Regions from separate parts of the Homo sapiens genome. Here region 2 is linked to region 1. The links are contacts of gene promoters, found by promoter capture Hi-C in human tissues and cell types (Jung and others, 2019). All regions are on one chromosome and are shown on one strand. The core of a region is centred on a gene start or on the middle of the fragment in contact, and the rest is flanking DNA. Distances in the headings are between cores, read along the strand shown. Region 1 overlaps FAM219A (family with sequence similarity 219 member A). Region 2 holds the start of CCL27 (C-C motif chemokine ligand 27).

Region 1 (2,775 bases), core at 197-2,696:
CTAGATTCCTATTGAAATTCTGTCTTGCTGAATTCAGCCAGCTACCTTTCTGAGAATAAGAGTCACATGACACACATGTAGTGTAGTTTCTAACAAATGTGGAACCATCATCTCACTATCCTCAGTGGACTCTTAACCTGTATTGGCAGTAAGCCTAGCTCAAGATGTGATTCCAGGTTCTTGCCTTGATTTTACACTGCTAAGGGAAAGGGCTGCTCTGTTCCAGATATGTTCTGAGTTCAATATAACAATAGGTATGGTTATTAAATATGATCATGGAAGCTCAACTGACAATAATAGAAGTACAATATCAATATTATGGGTAGTGGCAGTCCCACAATAATCTGTGCTGTGCAGATCACATGTACAGCTCTGTGTTCAGTTTCAGGGGTGAGAAACCTAAAAGTATCCACTAGGGCAGCTAGGATGACTGCGAATTTGGAAGCCAGTGTCCCGGGAAATGGTAAAAGGAAAAAGCAGGCCTATTTAGCCTGGGTAAACAAAAGAGCGCTAAGGCTGTATAACCTATAATAGGGCCTTTCCTCGCCAGTGACTTCTGGCTTATGGGTCTCTTCTTGTAGCCTATTCCTTCTTGCTTCTTTGGTCAAGGGCTTATAATTTCATATTAAGTGTGGCCAACCACTCATATGAAATTCATGAGATCTTTTCCTGAATCTGCTTCTTTCCCCCTCTTATCTGCTCAGCAGAGTCCAGGTTACTCCCTCTCACCTGGCCTATTTATTTCAAAAGGATTTTAAACTTTATATTAATTCAATACTTCAGAAACCAGTGCTGAAGATCAAGTAGAAAAAAACAGTTTTCTTCATTTTTTTTTTTTTAAGACAGGGTCTTGCTTTGTTGCCTAGGCTAGAGTGTAATAGTGCAATTATAGCTCATTGCAGCCTCGAACTCCCGGGCTCAAGCCATCCTCCCACCTCAGCCTCCCTAATGGCTAGGACTACAGGCATGCATCATCATGCCTGGCTACTTTTTAATTTTTTGTAGAGACAGGGTCTCACTATGTTGCCCAGGCTGGTCTCGAATTGATGGCCTTAAGCAATCCTCCCGCCTTGGCCTCTCTAAGCACTGGGATTACAGGCATGAGCCACTGCACCTGGCCCCTTTATTCATTTCTTAAGGAGCCATATGATAAGACTTTAGCCCCTCAGTGAAACAGATTGCTTGGCTGGCTAACATCCCCAAGAGTTCCCCTTTCCTGTGTTCTTTGCCCAAGATAACTATGATGATTCAGGGCCGCTGGGATGGCAACCAGAATACTAGAACTGTTGTTCCCCCTGCTGAAGACCATAGCAGACATGGAAAATCAACCAAACCATGTCAGTCTTTCATATGGAACCAGGAGTCCACCTTAGCATCCATCTTAACACAATGCTCCAGGCAGCAACTACTGATCAAGGGGCATTGGCATGAAGGGTAATGCCTGTTTATCATCCATGCTTTATGTAGCCTGTGGAGTAGGAGGGTATAAAATAATTATGCAGGAATGTTTCTTGAGCTGTTGTGAACAGTGAGAACATTTATTGATACTGCAGAGGAAGTACTGAAACATCCCCTAATCGGGGAATCCACTTTTCACCTTAAATCTCAATTGAGATGGGATTCTTCCTGATAAAAGATTTGGATTATCTTTATCTTCTCTACTGCTTGGCAGAACATAAAAGCATAGAGCACAGCCCAAGGTAAAAATGAGAAATAGAACTAGGCCATGGTGGGAGCTAAGCTATGAGGACACAAAGGCATAAGAATGATATAATGGACTCTGGGGACTCACAGGGGAAGGGTGGGAGAAGGATGAGGGATAAAAGACTACATGTTGGGTACATTGTACACTGTTTGGGTGACAGGTGCACCAAAATCTCAGAAATTACTACCAAAGAACTTATCCACATAACCAAAAACCACCTGTTCCCCAAAAACTATCGGAAAAAAAAAAAAAACCTCAGCCATGGGATAGCCACACTGGTTTAAAAGTAAAGTACTAGCTGGGTGCAGTGGCTCACACCTGTAATCTTAGCACTTTGGGAGGACATGGCAGGTGGATCTCTTGAGCCCAGGAATTTGAGACCAACCTGGGCAACATGGCGAAACCCCATCTCTACCAGAAAAAAACAAAAATTAGCTGGGCATGGTGGTGCACACCTGTAGTCCTAGTTACTTGGGAGGCTGAGGTGGGAGGATCACCTGAGCTGGGGAAGGTCAAGGCTGTAGGAGACAGAGTGAAACTGTGTCTCAAAAAACAGTAAAGTACTAAATGGCTAGTGTATACAATATATAAATTATATCTCAATAAAGTTGTCCAAAAAAAATAAGGATCAAACCAGCATTTGGTAGAGGGACATAAGGGAAATAAAACTCCCTTAGAAATATTATGAGAAAAACAAGGCACTTGGTATTTGCCTGTGCACCTAACCAAAGTTCACCAAGAGCTTCCTACTAATAGCAAGTTCAGACCCTGAAACAAATCAGCAACATCCCATTAGACACTAACTAGCATAGGGCAAAATGGTGTGGGTTATAAAAGACATTTAAAAGAACTAGGAAGACTATAAATCTAGACTGGATCAGCACAGATACTAATTTCTAAGCTAAAGTTTTCCAAAGAGTATTTCCCATGAAACACATTGGTTCTGTAAGATGTTAACAGATGTAACATGAAAAAAGGTTCTATAGTTAAATAAGCTTGGGAAACACTGAATTAAACAAAGTTGAAAAGGTTCCTTTACTGCAGGATATCTCAGAGTCTTTAAAACGTCA
Region 2 (2,775 bases), core at 131-2,630, 210 kb after region 1:
CCTCCTTCATTCTTAATGTGCCTGGGCCCAGAGCTAGGTCCACTCCCGTATCTTCAGTGTGTTGAAGAGGCTCCCTCAGAGCTGGGCTCCTCTACTCATCTTCAGAGTGTTAAGCTTAGAACTGAGTCACCTCCCTCATTCTCAGGGTGTCTGGGCCAAGATCCGGTCTTACTGTCTCTCCTGATTTGCCTCCTGCTTCTTCTAGGAGCTCCAAACCTGTAGAGGACCCAGGAGGGCTTCGGCAGATTCCACCTATAATTCTGTCTTGCTGGTGTGGATAGAAACCAGGCAGGACAGTAGATCCCTATGGTTGGATCTCAGCTGGAAGTTCTGTTTGGAGCCCATTTCTGTGAGACCCTGTATTTCAAATTTGCAGCTGAAAGGTGCTTGTACCTCTGATTTCACCCCAGAGTTGGAGTTCTGCTCAAGGAACGTGTGTAATGTGTACATCTGTGTCCATGTGTGACCATGTGTCTGTGAGGCAGGGAACATGTATTCTCTGCATGCATGTATGTAGGTGCCTGGGGAGTGTGTGTGGGTCCTTGGCTCTTGGCCTTTCCCCTTGCAGGGGTTGTGCAGGTGTGAATAAAGAGAATAAGGAAGTTCTTGGAGATTATACTCAGAAATTATTATCCAATGCTGCTTTATTATTTGGCTATTGGGGGCTTCAGCCCATTTTCCTTAGCATCCCAAAATTCAGCTTGGGCAGAGTCCCATGGAGCTTTCTCTCTTGGTGCTCAAACCACTGTGACAGGCTGGGGTTCTGGGGGTGGATGCAGATGCTGCGTTGAGCCAGGTGAAGCCTGGGTAGAGAAAGGTCCAAAGCTATGACCATAGCTTGGGGATGAGATTAGGGTCATCCCCAATGACCCTAATTAGGGGTTAGGAGCAAGGACCAGATGAAAACCTGAGTTGGCAACAGAATTAGCAGTTAGGGCTGGGGTTGGGATCAGCATTAGGGGTTGGGACTGAGGTCAGAGTCAGGGGTATCAGGGGTGGGAGCTCACACGAAAGCCTGGAGGTGACAGTCCCCGTCAGCCTCCTGCAGTTCCACCTGGATGACCTTCCTCAGTAGCTTGTCTGAGAGTGGCTTTCGGTAGAGCTGAGTACAGCAGGCAGTGCTGGGTGGCAGTAGGAATGCTAGGGGCAACAGGGCCATGTGTTCAGAGGGATCCTGACCAAGAACCTCTCTGCCAGACAGCTGGAGGTTAGGTTGGATTTCCTGGGTCTTTTCAACTTCATCCCATTCACCCAGACCCCCAGCTTTCTATACCCCCAAGTACTCACCTGCTGTAGGGTCTGGGCTCAGGAGCAATGACAGCAGCAGGAGGCTGCAGAAGGTTGGGGGCCCCTTCATGTTGCTCAGCCTAGACTCTTCCTTCTCTCTCTCTCCTCCTCCCCTACCTTTTATCTGGGTGCCTTTTACCTGGGGCACTAGGTGAGTCAGAGGCAGTTGGAGATGTACTGTGTAACCTGTGACACTCCTGGGCCCTAATTCTCGGCCTGTTGCCACAGACTCCTTCCTCATCTAGGATAGCCATTTCCCATGTGCTCCTAAGCTCTGGGCAGTGAAGCTGGGGGAAGGATTAGTGTGTGATGTAGGGACTGATGGAACAGTGAGTAAGGGCAGTCAAGCATCCACAGCAGCATCTAATGATAGACATTCACACTCAAATACGCATAGCCACACATTCAAAGTCACTCCTCAATCACTTGGTCAACCTCACAAAGTCATACTCATGATCAGACAACCGTAGACAAAATTATATAGCCCCGGTTATACTCAAAGTCCCTCTCCCACCCAATTGTGTTTTCACAGTCATCCAATCACAAGCAAATTCACACTAGCACACACAGATTCTGACAGGGGAGTTGTGGGTGGGGTGGGAGCAGAGGGCAGGCAAGCACCAACTTGCCTTCACCTTCTCCTCCCCACTTCCTGGCTTGGCCTGCCTGTCTTATCAGAAGAAATGGATGGGAATGGGTCCCTAGAGCAGGCCCTTCTGGCTGAGGAGGGTTCTTGGCTGAGGCCAGCCCCATTCAGAGAAGCTGGGGGAAGGCCCTTTATGGTAATATTAAGGGTGTTTTGGAGATGCTGAGGTGGGGCAGCTTTCCCCAGGATGATGAGACAGGGAGGAAAGGTGGGGTAGATAAGGAGGGAAGATAAAAGCTCTTTGGTGCTAGGTTACTGTTGTCAAAACAGGTAAAAGGCCCAGTGAATCTTACCTTCCTGTTTTTGTCTAGTCCTGTTCCAGGAATGCCAACCTCTTGCCAGCAGGGGCCTAGGGTCTCCAGATCCAGTCCCTGACTTGTTGAAGACATTGGACTCAAGCACTCAATTACATCTTTGTTTTACTCAAATTCCAGCCTCCTTCCTGGGCCTGGAGGAACATCCCCTCTCCCTACCCGGGTTCAGTCACACCCTCATGTCCAACTGCTATACCCCCTGCATCCCACCCTCCAGCTATAGCCGCTTCTCTCCTAATCCCATACCCAGCTGTCACTCCGTTCTTTACCCCCTCCCTGCAATGCAAAGCTCCTATTCATCTTTATCCAGTCCTTTCCAGGAAGCTGGGAGCTGCCTAGGGTGGGGGTATGCTGCCAAGTTCAGTGCCCCTGGCTCCTTTAAGAATTTCCCACTCCTGGTCCAGGGATCTCAATCTGCAAGTCCTGCTCTATATTTGAAACATAAACCAAGTCATAACACAGTAATCCAGCCCTTATCTTGTTGCAGTCGTCTGCTGTAGGGTCAGCCACTCTCTATGGAGTAGGCTT

The links. Contacts are between HindIII fragments. The study calls those that stand out against the background at their distance.
Region 2: the fragment with the promoter of CCL27 here is called in contact with a fragment that was not itself captured in region 1 in 3 of the 25 tissues and cell types used here (H1 embryonic stem cells, pancreas and spleen).

What each region holds. Positions count from the first base shown.
Region 1 is chr9:34,447,051-34,449,825 of GRCh38, forward strand. The region is part of intron 1 of FAM219A (family with sequence similarity 219 member A); the gene reads right to left. Among named protein-coding and RNA genes, the nearest start is that of FAM219A, 10 kb to the right of the region's middle. The HindIII fragment of the contact is 5,527 bases long and covers 1-2,775 here.
Region 2 is chr9:34,661,277-34,664,051 of GRCh38, forward strand. CCL27 (C-C motif chemokine ligand 27) reads right to left here and starts at 1,381. Exons shown (of 3, transcript NM_006664.4): 1 at 1,288-1,381; 2 at 1,008-1,140; 3 at 614-803. The coding sequence starts at 1,357. The coding sequence ends at 668. IL11RA (interleukin 11 receptor subunit alpha) reads left to right here. Exons shown (of 13, transcript NM_001142784.3): 13 at 206-626. The coding sequence ends at 222. The HindIII fragment of the contact is 14,352 bases long and covers 1-2,775 here.